Linked DNA regions of Homo sapiens: all the other regions are linked to region 3. Evidence: promoter capture Hi-C in 16 types of primary human blood cells and fetal thymus (Javierre and others, 2016). All regions are on one chromosome and are shown on one strand. The core of a region is centred on a gene start or on the middle of the fragment in contact, and the rest is flanking DNA. Distances in the headings are between cores, read along the strand shown. Region 1 overlaps PRKAR1A (protein kinase cAMP-dependent type I regulatory subunit alpha). Region 2 has its middle 140 kb from the start of LINC01482. Region 3 holds the start of MAP2K6 (mitogen-activated protein kinase kinase 6). Region 4 holds the start of PRKAR1A (protein kinase cAMP-dependent type I regulatory subunit alpha). Region 5 overlaps KCNJ2-AS1 (KCNJ2 antisense RNA 1).

The links. The method cuts DNA at HindIII sites, captures the fragments that hold promoters and counts their contacts. A CHiCAGO score of 5 or more calls a contact.
Region 1: a contact is called between a fragment that was not itself captured here and the fragment with the promoter of MAP2K6 in region 3, in 1 of 17 cell types (activated CD4 T cells). The highest score is 5.7, in activated CD4 T cells.
Region 2: a contact is called between a fragment that was not itself captured here and the fragment with the promoter of MAP2K6 in region 3, in 3 of 17 cell types (M1 macrophages, total CD8 T cells and naive CD8 T cells). The highest score is 6.1, in M1 macrophages.
Region 4: a contact is called between the fragment with the promoter of PRKAR1A here and the fragment with the promoter of MAP2K6 in region 3, in 4 of 17 cell types (activated CD4 T cells, total B cells, erythroblasts and 1 more). The highest score is 7.8, in activated CD4 T cells.
Region 5: a fragment that was not itself captured here is called in contact with the fragment with the promoter of MAP2K6 in region 3 in 1 of 17 cell types (naive B cells); the score reaches 7.2 in naive B cells.

What each region holds. Positions count from the first base shown.
Region 1 is chr17:68,530,996-68,533,695 of GRCh38, forward strand. It overlaps PRKAR1A (protein kinase cAMP-dependent type I regulatory subunit alpha), which reads left to right. Exons shown (of 11, transcript NM_002734.5): 11 at 1-2,436. Among named protein-coding and RNA genes, the nearest start is that of PRKAR1A, 20 kb to the left of the region's middle. The HindIII fragment of the contact is 247 bases long and covers 1,248-1,494 here.
Region 2 is chr17:68,770,794-68,773,493 of GRCh38, forward strand. No RefSeq gene overlaps it. Among named protein-coding and RNA genes, the nearest start is that of LINC01482, 140 kb to the left of the region's middle. The HindIII fragment of the contact is 159 bases long and covers 1,327-1,485 here.
Region 3 is chr17:69,413,436-69,416,135 of GRCh38, forward strand. MAP2K6 (mitogen-activated protein kinase kinase 6) reads left to right here and starts at 1,262. Exons shown (of 12, transcript NM_002758.4): 1 at 1,262-1,565. The coding sequence starts at 1,550. The HindIII fragment of the contact is 8,167 bases long and covers 1-2,700 here.
Region 4 is chr17:68,511,056-68,513,755 of GRCh38, forward strand. It overlaps PRKAR1A (protein kinase cAMP-dependent type I regulatory subunit alpha), which reads left to right and starts at 1,375. Exons shown (of 11, transcript NM_002734.5): 1 at 1,375-1,493. RefSeq lists silencers at 556-915, 1,336-1,845 and enhancers at 849-1,422, 1,176-1,265. The HindIII fragment of the contact is 13,629 bases long and covers 1-2,700 here.
Region 5 is chr17:70,165,212-70,167,911 of GRCh38, forward strand. It overlaps KCNJ2-AS1 (KCNJ2 antisense RNA 1), which reads right to left. Exons shown (of 1, transcript NR_036534.1): 1 at 1,750-2,700. Among named protein-coding and RNA genes, the nearest start is that of KCNJ2-AS1, 2.8 kb to the right of the region's middle. The HindIII fragment of the contact is 1,559 bases long and covers 478-2,036 here.

The sequences.
Region 1 (2,700 bases), core at 121-2,620, 880 kb before region 3:
CTAATTATCAATGGGATATGATTGGTTCAGTTTTTTTTTTTCCAGAGTTGTTGTTTGCCAAGCTAATCTGCCTGGTTTTATTTATATCTTGTTATTAATGTTTCTTCTCCAATTCTGAAATACTTTTGAGTATGGCTATCTATACCTGCCTTTTAAGTTTGAAACTAACTCATAGATTGCAAATATTGGTTAGTATTTAACTACATCTGCCTCGGCTCACAAATTCCGATTAGACCTTTATCCAGCTAGTGCCAAATAATTGATCAGATGCTGAATTGAGAATAAGAATTTGAGGTCTACATTCTTGGTTGTTAATTTAGAGCGTTTGGTTAAAGTATGTCCTTCAGCTGACTCCAGTATAATCTCCTCTGCTCATTAAACTGATTCCAGGAGATTGGATTTGCTGTGACTAGATACAGATGGAGCAAATGTCCTAACAGAGAAATAGAGGTGATGCTGCTAAAGGGAGAAATGCCAGGCGGACAAAGTTCAGTGTCGGGAATTTTCCCCGTGACATTCACTGGGGCATGAGATTTTGGAAGAAGTTTTTTACTTTGGTTTAGTCTTTTTTTCCTTCCTTTTTATTCAGCTAGAATTTCTGGTGGGTTGATGGTAGGGTATAATGTGTCTGTGTTGCTTCAAATTGGTCTGAAAGGCTATCCTGCTGAAAGTCCTGCTTTCCTATCTAGCATTTATTTCTCTGGCAAACTTTTCTTTCTTTTCTTTTTTAAAGTAAACTTGTGTATTGAGTCTTAACTGTATTTCAGTATTTTCCAGCCTTATGTGTTACATTATTCCAATGATACCCAACAGTTTATTTTTATTATTTTTTTAAACAAAATTTCACAGTTCTGTAATGTAGGCACTTTTATTTTCATTGTGATTTATATATAAGGTAATGTAGGGTTATATTTGGGAGTGACTGCAAGCATTTTTCCATCTGTGTGCAACTAACTGACTCTGTTATTGATCCCTTCTCCTGCCCTTTCCCAGGTAATTTAAATTGGTCATGGTAGATTTTTTTCATAGATTTGAAAAACTTTTAGGTTGTTACCAAGTATGAAGTATAAATCTGGGGAAGAGGTTTTATTTACATTTTAGGGTGGGTAAGAAAGCCACCTTGTTACAAATTTTTTAATTTCCAAAATAATCTATATTAAATGAGGGTTTCTGATCTGTACTTTGTGTTTAGCTACCTTTTTATATTTAAAAAATTAAAAATGAAAATTACGTTCTTACAAGCTTAAAGCTTGATTTGATCTTTGTTTAAATGCCAAAATGTACTTAAATGAGTTACTTAGAATGCCATAAAATTGCAGTTTCATGTATGTATATAATCATGCTCATGTATATTTAGTTACGTATAATGCTTTCTGAGTGAGTTTTACTCTTAAATCATTTGGTTAAATCATTTGGCTTGCTGTTTACTCCCTTCTGTAGTTTTTAATTAAAAACTTTAAAGATAAGTCTACATTAAACAATGATCACATCTAAAGCTTTATCTTTGTGTAATCTAAGTATATGTGAGAAATCAGAATTGGCATAATTTGTCTTAGTTGATATTCAAGGCTTTAAAAGTCATTATTCCTGGGCTTGGTAAGTGAATTTATGAGATTTACTGCTCTAGAAAGTATAGATGGCCAAAGGACCGTTTTGTATTGCTTCCTGATTACCAGTCTGATTATACCATGTGTGCTAATATACTTTTTTTGTTATAGATTGTCTTAATGGTAGGTCAAGTAATAAAAAGAGATGAAATAATTTAAATTCTTAAATGAATCAGTTTTTCTTCCCTTTCTCCTTTCCGTCTTTCCTCTCTCTGTCCTTCCCCGAAAGTCTACTCGGGTGGGCAAAAATGAAAAGGGGGAAAGTGAATTATGGGATCGGTGTTTTGAAAGAGCAATGTTTATTTTCAGTGCTTTTCAGTTTGTCAAAGAGTGGATCTCAAAATCTTGCTTAAAGGGTAATTGAGATGTAGCAGATTTATTTACTTAGTCATGGAAAGAAAAAAATTCAGTCAAAAGCTAAAGATTTCCTTTTGATTGAAGACAGATTGGTTCTGTGGCCTTGGAACTTTCCCAGACTTAATGGGGAAACATCATTTCTAGATTAGCATACTCTTTGGTTTAAATTTAATATATACATTTAATGTTACTTAGGGATACTTTTATATTTTGCATATATAAAGCCTCATATATAAAGCCTTATTTCTGATGCTCTTAGATTTCTGAGGAGTGAGATGATTAAGTTGTATTCATTAGTGTATTGGTATTTCTTCACATCCAGTGAAATTGGAGATATGTTGTATGTTAGAAGAGCATTCTTTAAATTGTGTTGCTTTGAACATGTGTACCTTTTCTAGATTCAGTAATCCCTTCCCCCCGTCCTCTGGAGTATGAAACCTTTAGAGTCACAATAAAATGTAACTAAAGAAAATTTCTCTGGGTTGACAGTCCTGGTTATAGTTGAATTCTCTCTAAACAGTGGCCCAAGTAGACTCTTTTTTTTGTTTCTTTTATTTTTTAATGATTTAAATATTGACATTTAAAAATTGAAGTAGCATGTCAGTTTTCTTCATACTACTTTATCTCTAACCACAAATAATAGCTGAACCTTTTGTACTTATGTTAGGCCCTGGCAGTGTATGTTTAGATGGGCTAAGACAACATCAAGAAGCAATGGCTAGATAACCATTTAATT
Region 2 (2,700 bases), core at 156-2,655, 640 kb before region 3:
CATGTGTCTTTATGGCAGCATGATTTATAATCCTTGGGGAAAATACCCAGTAATGGGATGGCTGGGTCAAATGGCATTTCTAGTTCTAGATCCTTAAGGAATCGCCACACTGTCTTCTACAATGGTTGAACTAGTTTACAGTCCCACCAACAGTGTAAAAGTGTTCCTGTTTCTCCACATCCTCTCCAGCACCTGTTGTTTCCTGACTTTTTAATGATCGCCATACTAACTGGTGTGAGGTGGTATCTCATTGTGGTTTTGATTTGCATTTCTCTGACGGCCAGTGATGGTGAGCATTTTTTCATGTGTCTGTTGGCCGCATAAATGTCTTCTTTTGAGAAGTGTCTGTTCATATCCTTTGCCCACTTTTTGATGGGGTTGTTTGATTTTTTCTTGTAAATTTGTATAAGTTCTTTGTAGATTCTGGATATTAGCCCTTTGTCAGTTGGGTAGATTGTAAAAATTTTCTCCCATTCTGTAGGTTGCCTGTTCACTCTGATGGTAGTTTCTTTTGCTATGCAGAGACATAGCTTCTTATTTTCTATACAGGACCTGGAAGGAAAACCTGAAAAACCCATGACACTCCCTTTCCTGTTAGCTGTGTGGTGTTATGAAATGGACTGACAGGATTTAGCTTTCCCAGCACCACTGAAGGACCCTCAGCAACTTCAAGTTCAAAATGTCCTCACCTTCGCCTGATTTTGGGAAGTATTGCATCAACACGTTTTTGCAAAAAGAATGGAACTTTAAAATTTTTTCTTGGCGTTCTCTTTCTCTTTATACATGAGCAATAAATGTGTGCAGAAGTCATTCTAGCCAACAAGATTGTCAGGCCGAGACGGGCAGATCACGAGGTCAGGAGATCGAGACCATCCTGGCTAACACGGTGAAACCCCGTCTCTACTAAAAATACAAAAATTAGCCGGGCATGGTGGCGCGCGCCTGTAGTCCCAGCTACACGGGAGGCTGAGGCAGGAGAATGGCGTGAACCCGGGAGGCGGAGCTTGCAGTGAGTCGAGATCGCGCCACCGCACTCCAGCCTGGGCGACAGAGCGAAACTCCGTCTCAAAAAAAAAATAAATAAATAAAATAAAATAAAAAATAAAAAAAAAAAGATTGTCACCAGCTGTATTAACCTAAAAGTAGAGGAAGAATGAAGAATCCCTGAAAATCACATGTGCTGTGCTGCTGAGTGATGGCCTTTAAAACGTTGAGATTCATACGCCCTGTAGAGGGCAATGTTTCCCCTTGCCTAAAATGTTTTCACTATTCGAAAAGCATCAGTAAGTCCAAGGAGCGACATCCCAAGAGGGCAGAAATTAAGAAAGCTTTCTGGGTTCAGTATTGACTGTAAATGCCCACTGGAGAGGAGAAATCATCGATGATAGCCTTGACTATTGCTAGAATCTCTTCCTTTAGATTCCTGGGGCTAGAGTTGAGGATTTCACTTTAAGAAAGATTGAGACAGAGTGAAAGCAAGAGAGAAGCTTGTAAGAAGAAGTGGGAGGATGTTAACAGTGAGAGCTGGGAATTTGCTCATGAGGCCGAGTGGCTACCACAATCTCCAGTACAGGCTGAATGTGTGTCGTTCCATTCCGCTTCTACCCTCTGTAAGAGGCCTGCCCTGTTCACAAGGCCAATAAGGGGTTAGATTTTAAGGCTTGTTGAAAATAAACTTTGGTAATCCCAGTGCTTAGAGCCCAGTGACATAGAAAGGAGAGCCTTCTTCAACTTTTGGAGAGCAAACTTCTAGGGGGATGAGGTGGGAAGTTTACTTGGGGGAATCCTGCCCAGGGCATCACCTCAGCTTTCTGATCCTTGGTTTTTTTTTTTCCAGGATCCCAAAGAGAGGCACAAATGGTGTGTCCAAGCTTCAGATTGAACTCCTCTGAGACTTTTCTCTTCTCCATAATCATAGCTAGATGAACAGAAGGATGTGGCCACCACAAATTCAATGAATGTGTATACCTTTAGAATATTTGTGATTACACAAGTCCCTAGAGGCAGGTGGGGGCAAAGACTTCTTTGTAAAAGTCCAAAGGTGTCTTAGAAATGTGCAAAAGTACAAGACTTACTGAGGTACAGAAAGCAATGGCTCTTATTTTCAAAGGGAGCCCAAGAAAAGTTCTTTGAATTTTTCGTCTGGCCCTTTTACTTTTCAAATTTCTTATTTTGTCACACTTTGTGGTTGTAGCAATTTGTGAACAGAAAGCATCTCATCCTTTGCTCAGCATGGGCAGAAGGGACAATGAGCACCTCCTTGGTTGCATGTAGATTTTTCCATAGCAGAGTGAAAAAAGATTGGAAAAATTTGTTCCAGCATCCTTGCATGGAAGTAAAGACTTCCCATGAAACCAAAAGTATAGTTTCTCTCTGACATCTCTTGAAATAAACACTTCTTAGTCAGAACTATCCCCCCATAGATGGCACTTTAGGTTGGGCCAAAAATGGTAGAAAGGATATGGGATCTCTGCTTCCAACAGCATTTGACAATTATTCTACTAGAAAAACACATGCACAGTATGTTGATTGCAGCACTATTTACAATAGCAAAGACTTGGAACCAACCGAAATGCCCATCAATGATAGACTGGATAAAGAGAATGTGGCACATGTACACCATAGAATATTATGCAGCCATAAAAAAGAATGAGTTCATGTCCTTTACAGGGACATGGTTGAAGCTGGAAGCCATCATCC
Region 3 (2,700 bases), core at 12-2,511:
CTCCTCTCCATTCCTTGCAGTGAATTGTGCTAAGCATCTCTGGCTTCCTTGTGAAAAAGGTGATGCCGTTCTCCATCAGGGTGCTGTGTACCCACTATGTGTGAGCGGTACAGAATGAATGAACATCCCAGGGCCCTAGAAAGGCGCCTGGCACATCCTGGACACTCAACAAGTATCTTTTAATTTTAATGAATAAATTCAAGATATTCGACTGTATTCATTTTCCACCCACTTTCCCCCTAGGCCAGGGACTCTCCTCCCAGGTGAGAAAAAATCATCTAGATACCTTAATTTTGATAAAGTTAGCGTTGATGTATAAAAAGCAGAACTTCCTCTGTAACCCTGTGAGAAATGAGAAGCCTCCAATCTTCTTCCCCACACCTACCCCCTACTGAGTTTCGGGTTCCTTGGAAATAACTGACCTGGATTGTTTCTGACAAAATAAAACTTTGCATCTTCTCCACAGAGCAAAGGTAACCTTACCTCCAGCCAACCCAATCATCCATACATTTTTCTTACTAGAAAAAATGTTTTTAAAAATGGAGGTGTGGCCGGGCGCGGTGGCTCACGCCTGTAATCCCAGCACTTTGGGAGGCCGAGGTGGGCGGATCATAAGGTCAGGAGTTCGAGACCAGCCTGGCTAAATGTTGACACCCCGTCTCTACTAAAAATTAGCCGGGCGTGGTGGCGCATACCTGTAATCCCAGCTACTTGGGAGGCTAAGGCAGGAGAATTGCTTGAACCCGGGAGGCGGAGGTTGCAGTGAGCAGAGATCGCGCCACTGCACTCCAGCCTGGGCGACAGAGCGAGACTCCCTCTCGGGAAAAAAACAACAACAACAACAACAAAAAAACCCCCAAACAAACAAAAAACGGAGGTGTGAGGGTAAAACGTCTACAGGCAAGAACAGCACAACAGGTGCTGAGCTGCAAAATCAACACACTAAACTCCCAAACAGACCTTCTCGACAAGCCAAAAGCTCTTTAGCTAACCTAATATTCTTTAGCTGTTGTTTCAGAGGCTTTTCGAGAACAAAACTGCCGCCCCGTCTTGGCCTTGCCGCTTTTCACCCATCACTCTACTGAGTGTGTGTCTGACTTGTTTATCTGGACGCAATCTTTGTCGCACCCAGTTATCTCGCTCAGCGACCGGGGCGACCACGTTTCCTTAAATCAGAGCCCCGTGGACTCCGCCGGAGAACTACATTACCCAGCGGCCTTCGCGCCCTTCGCAGGAAGGACGTCTGCGCACTAAGATACTCAGTTCCAAGTTTGGAGCTTTTAGCTGCCAGCCCTGGCCCATCATGTAGCTGCAGCACAGCCTTCCCTAACGTTGCAACTGGGGGAAAAATCACTTTCCAGTCTGTTTTGCAAGGTGTGCATTTCCATCTTGATTCCCTGAAAGTCCATCTGCTGCATCGGTCAAGAGAAACTCCACTTGCATGAAGATTGCACGCCTGCAGCTTGCATCTTTGTTGCAAAACTAGCTACAGAAGAGAAGCAAGGCAAAGTCTTTTGTGCTCCCCTCCCCCATCAAAGGAAAGGGGAAAATGTCTCAGTCGAAAGGTAAGAGGCTGTTTGCATTAGTTGCAAAAATGCAAAGGGTTGTGCATGCATTTATGAATGCATGGATGCAATTTTCGCCTGGCGAGTGCATTTTTAAGTTTGAGGTTTTCCACAGCTCAGTTGCATTTCCTGTTTAGTATGTGTCTTTTTTTGCAGACACAGAGAGTTCCTGTAAGGCAGGGCTTGCAGTTCAGCTGTGCATTGACGTTATTTGCATTCTTCTGCTAGGATTACTGAGCTCTTTTTGCCTTTTGCACAGTCAGGAGAGACAGAGCAGGTTGGTAGCGTCTAAATGTGCAAGGCTTTATATAATTGTAAAATTCTTTACTATGCACAGATATTGTAAGTAATTTTGTATGCAACAGGAATAGAAACTTTTAAAAACTCTATAGGTGAAGATGAAAGGTAAAACTTGAGTTAAACTACTAGGAAATTAATGTAATCTTATATTCTTTGGGGGAAATAGACCGTTGCGGTGCCAGTATTTAGCTAAATTTCCATTGATATCGCCTTGAACATTAGGTAACTTTTGATTTTTAAAGGAAGTAAAGGTGAAGGGTGAATAACAGCATATCACAAAAAAGCAGACGAGTCTTGCTCTTCTGAGATTTTGCACTTTACACCAATTGCTTATTGGCTCGCAAAATTTAGAAGCAGCAGTGAAGACCTAATGTTTTATGTCTGCCCATTTGGGGGATGCTTTGCATCTTGGGGGAAAATATTGGGGGTAAAACTGTACTTTTAAGCATTACAGTAGTGTGAAGGGACTGCACTGTTTCATTGACAAGCATAATGAAATATTTTAAGTGTGTAACTGCGTGTATTTAGTCAGCTGTAATAGGTTGGAAGTTCACGTTATGGTTGTTTTCTTTATGTTCTTTTATTTTCTTTTCTTAATTTTTGTTTTTAAACACAGTTGTATTTTGCAGGCTTAATGTCACCCTGGGAAGGGGATTTAAAAAATTCCTGATATGACATCAAAGAGCAGACTAGGTGCTGTCAGGTGCCCCTGGGACCCCAAGTCACTTGTTTCAGAACAATTGTTTCTTTACCATAGAGAAAGCATATGCCATATGAGAAGTATGGGATGATGAAGAGAGGTGTTAGATACTATTGAATTAGGCTACCCGGGGCA
Region 4 (2,700 bases), core at 125-2,624, 900 kb before region 3:
ATCTGGAATCAATATAAACACTATTGAGCTACTTTTTTGTATTGTGTTGAGTTCATGATTTACTTTAAACATACAGCCCTTGAAGTATATACAATGTTACTACAACAGCTCCTGGACACTTGCATATGTGTGTATTTTGCTTTTTTGTATTGTGTTGAATCCATTATGAATTTTAAGCACACGGCCCTAGAAATATATACAATGCTACTAAAGCAGCCCCTAGCCAGACACTTGGACATGTTTCCTTGATGGGCCTTCTTTATTGAGTTACAGACTTGATGTGTCTAAAATTGTACCGTCTCCCTTTTCTTCCTCCTTAGACAGATACTCTGATGGAAAAAAAAAATGGCTGAAAGAGTAAAGTCGCTTTTCCTCCGAATTTTCCCCATTAGTGCAGCTTGTCTGGACAGCTGCGATTTCTTGTTGGGTCACAGGGCATTTTTGACAATCTGCACGCTCTGCACTTCTCCCTCTGTGAGGTCAGGAGTGATGGGGGGGCACTTCAGGTTCTAGAAGGACTCAGGCCTCCTCTTGGACCCTGACAAAGTCCTTTCCCGTGCCTGGTTTCCACAGGGACGGTGTTGCCTGCACAGACGACAGCACCCCCGGCGGGGGAGAGCGGCCCCAGCGGAGACTCGGCAGGGCTCAGGTTTCCTGGACCGGATGACTGACCTGAGCCCGGGGCCCGGGCGGCGCTGGCCGGGCACAGGATGCGCGGCCCGGAGAGCGCATCCCGGCCATCCGCCCGCGCTCGGCCCCGCAGCGCAGCTGCTGCAGATCCGCGGGGGCCGCCACCTCCTCCGGGGGCTGGCAGCGACAGGACTCTCCCCGCCCCGGCCCGGGGCCCTCCCTTGCAGGGGCTGCGGGGAGGAGTCGCCCACCTGTCATCTGAGACGCCCCACGTGGGTCGGCCAGGGAGGGGGTGGAAAGGAGGGAGAAAAGGCAGAGGCGTCAAGGGAGGCCGGAGGGAGAGTGGGGTGGACAGAGGAGCGGAGGGACGAGAGGGAAGCGCACGATAGCTGCGCGGAGAGAGAGCGAAGAGCAGGCGGAGGAACAAAGGCGACCCAAGACACCCAGAGAGGGACAGGTAAGGAGGGGCAGGTGAGCAGGAAGGAGGAGAGAACCGGGCTAGGGAGACTGCGGAAAGGAGAAGTGGCGGGCGTGAGGAAACTGCTGTGGATAAGGGACGAGTAAGATGGAAAGAATGGCGGAAGACGAACGACCGCAGAGTGAGGGTCCTTCCAAGAGCGACCAGGGGGGAGGAACTGGGGCTGTTGCGCCCTTAAGGTTGCTAAGGCGACGGTTCTGGCCAGAGCGAGGCGCATTGACGTCAGTAGCCGAACGCTGATTGGCTGCGGCCAGGCCGTTTCCGGTGGAGCTGTCGCCTAGCCGCTATCGCAGAGTGGAGCGGGGCTGGGAGCAAAGCGCTGAGGGAGCTCGGTACGCCGCCGCCTCGCACCCGCAGCCTCGCGCCCGCCGCCGCCCGTCCCCAGGTGAGTGGGGTCGGCCGGGGGCTCAGGCGAGGTGAGCTTCGTCGCTTCGCAGCCGGTTTGCGGGAGCTGGACCGATCCAAGATGGCGTCACGGGGAGCGACCTGCAGGGGGACGGCCGCACCCCCTGCCCCTCCCCGGCCCGGCGGGCGCCTCCCCGCAGGCCTCACGCCCCCGGCTCCGAGTCTGCATCCTCAAGGCCGTCTGGGCGTTGGCTTTGGTGCGGGGCTCCCCAGCCGCCCCGCTCGCGCTCGCTGCCCCCACCCCACGGCTCCTGGGGCCCTGGGCCCTCCGCGGCCCTCCCCGGCCGCCTTCGCCCCCGCGCGCCGCGGCCTCTTCGCTCACCCTCCCCCATTTCCTGAAGGACAACGGCTCTATTTTACTGGGGTCCGCCATCGTCTCGTCCGCCGGTCCTGGCTCTTCTTGTAAGCCGGTAGTTTTCCTCTCCACTTTTGACGACTCGTCATTGCTAGCAGTAGCCTTTCCTCTTCATAGCGGAGTGATCTTTCCCCCAACACGACGGTCTTAGTCGGGCTCCTGAATTTCCTCTTGTCCCCTTTCACCTCTCTCCCTTTCCCAATTTTGCCCCCCTGAGGCCTCCTCGCCACCACTGTGGCCTTCCGACTGGCGTAGCTTGAAGTCTCGGCTTCCCTTCATTTTGTGGTCATGACCGTGGCCTACGTGAAGTGAAGGGCATTTTCCTGCCCTTCTTCTAGAAAATACACGGTACCTATTAACCTCTTCAGCTCAGAGCCTGTGGTGACGACCGTCCTACTCCTTGAGAGATTCCCAAGAGATCCGTCTTTTTAGCAGAGCGAGGAAAGCAAACACTTACTCAAGATGACCCTAGGGGAGCCGTAACTTGGCTGGTCTAAGGGGGTGCGGTCTGAATCAGGAACAGTTTCTCAAAGTGTTTTTATTTATTTCCCAGAATGTAATCCTTTCGAAACAATTTTGTCACAACTGAATTTTCAAAAGAATGAATCTGAGTGTTTTGTTTTACATAGAGACAATGCAGCGAAAGTTTTAAAGCAGTTAAATAATTGTGTGTGGGGAGGGAAGGCTAGGTTGTTGGGCTTTACAAATAAGTACACATAGAGAATCCGGGTAACTCGATTAAAAATATTAAGACTGTGAAGTCTGGTTATTCAGGGATTTACATGGTGACTGCATTAATTTTGGTACATTTCTGTTCGTATACTGTCCTATT
Region 5 (2,700 bases), core at 7-2,506, 750 kb after region 3:
CACTGAAATATTTTCTCAATACATCAGTACATGATTTTATGTGTACATATAAACATATGGATAGTTGCAAACACGCGGGTATCTCACTTACTCAGAAGTTTTCCTCAGCTATTTATAACAGCAAATACAAAGACTAAGCCATTTAAATGCTCTGAGAAGCAAAATAGATGCCATAAATCCAAATCCTGAAGCTTTTTTACCCAAAAAGGAGGTTGACCAAGCGAAGGTAACTCCAAATTCAGCATCTGCTCATACTATTTCAAAAATGCATCTTTAGATATGTTAAATCATATTTGCTTGTACATTACTTTAGCAACCTTGGTTACATAATTTATCAGCCCAGCACAGATTAGAATCAACAAATTAGGCAGAGCATGGTGACAGTCTGACAGATTCAAGGCACATTATCAGAAGCAAAAATGAGAACGGAAGGCTCACATTGATGGAGAAGGGAAAACAAGCAGAAGGGCTTAAATAAGCTTAGTCTAGGGTCATTTAATGCAGGAGAAAAGGCTCTACTGTAACCTGATAGGCCTACTGTATTGCAGGTAAAAAATGAAATAGCTTATGTTTATTATAATCATATTGAGTAATCATCAAAAGTTATACTAAAACATACTGTTCCTTTCATTCATTTCCATGTAACTGACATTTATTCTTAGAAACAACTTATAATTCATATGCTTGATTACCTGTATATAGAAAGGTCTGGGGCATAGCAGGCATTTAAGAAATTAACTGAATGAGGAGCCACTCCTATCTTCTGACGTGTTCTCAGCATCCTTAATACCACTACACATAGTAATATGTCATATGTATTAAATCTTCCATTACAAAGTCTTACCCTGCTTCATTCCATTCTTCAAAATCTAAGATTATCGTTTTATTTGTTGCTTGATCCATTTTAGTGCATAATCATAAGCTGCCTTATATTGTTGTTTAATCATTTAAATGTTTCACTTCTGCCTTGTTCATCTTCTCAGTTAGACATTTTGAACTCTTAAGAAGAGGAATTACTCCCGCTAGGACACTTCTGTCTTTCATCTCACCTAGCATATAGCCAAAGTACAACGTAGTTATTTCAACAAATACGTTCACTGAATTTAAAAATATGAAGATTAAATATTATCAATGCAGTAAGTGAAACTAAAGGCCAAAACTGTTTTCCAATAAATAAGATTACATACAGTGCCTTAAAATACCACAGTAAGTGGCTTGTTCTCATAGCAGCAGATTGCAAACTCAGCCTGTCTACATTTCCGGGCAATCTGACAATGATTTATTTACTATTTATTGCTAATGATGATTACTTTGAAGATTAGAAAGTGGTTTTTAATATCCAGTGGATACAAATGCCAGGAGCGTTTGATGTTTTACCATTGTGAATTTGAACTGCATATACATGGTTAATGTAAGTCTGAAAGTATGTCTAATTGTTGGGGATCTTTATATAAATGCAAAGGAAAGATCTGTGCTTCTAGTGAAACAATCACCTTCTGCGTCACACAGCTATTCACAATCTGACTGCAGATCCAGATTGTGACTAATATTTGGCTCTAATATTATAGGTGGTTACCGTGGAGAGAATCAGTAAGAGCATAATTGTCATTTCCTTGGAAAAATTTAATCCACAGATGGATCCCAACACCCAATTGCATTCGTGTCCAAGACTAATGGGGATTTTTGCTAAATAAGGCCTGATTCAGCCAAAAAAGATAGACTCTGAATACAGAAATCTGCATCACGCATCACTTCAAAAGATGTATTAAATCAAACACTGAAAGCATTGGCACACAGAATTTTCCTAATAGGGACATGATGAAAAGTCATTTATTAATTAAAATGCATTTATATTTTCTTTTTTTAAAATGAAGCAATGGGGGTATTCTACGCTACCATACATTTACAAAATTTCATTTGCAAAATTTCATCCTTCATACTTCCTTATTTAGCTAATTAAGGTAATGATTCTACTTAGATTGGAAAGTTCTAATTAAAATCATTAATTTTTCCCGAACCTTCTCCTTCAAGATCTAAGCTTTGCTGCACATCCTTCAGTCTTTGGGAGGAGAGAATGTTGGGGGATGTGCTGCTGATAATTGATGAGAGAGAGCAGGATACATTTATTATGACCTTCCTCCCGCTGCCCAGCTAAATTTATACAGCCAACCATAATCTAATAACTCTGTGTTCCTTTCTTTAAAGATTTTCCTATCATATGAAACTATTTCGGCCTGTGGTGTATTCTTTCTAATTAGAGTAGAATACTAAAGCAAAACCATTTCAATCCAAGTTGCATAAAAATGCCATCCCTTTCCGAGTGACTGGTTTTCAAAGCGAGCTCATTACCTGGAAAAACAACAACAACAAAAGTGTTGCCTCTCTGAATTCACGTGGTTTGGAAAATTCTTAGCCATCTACAGATGCACCAACTGAATCATAATAAAGAAGAGAAAATCTATAAATGATTAATTTCCTTTTTCTATTTAGGCTTAACATGTTTTAAGGGATAATTAAACTTTTGGCCTGTTTCTTAGAAGTCCAGGAGGAAGCATATTTCAGAAGAAGCTTATTGAACTGAGCGGTGAACTCATTCATTATCCTTTGGTTAATACAGAGTGAACTTGTCTACCCTCAGGTTCATTTAGCTTTAGGCTACAGCCTAGATTCTTAGACATCCGTCTATTTTACAGTATTAAT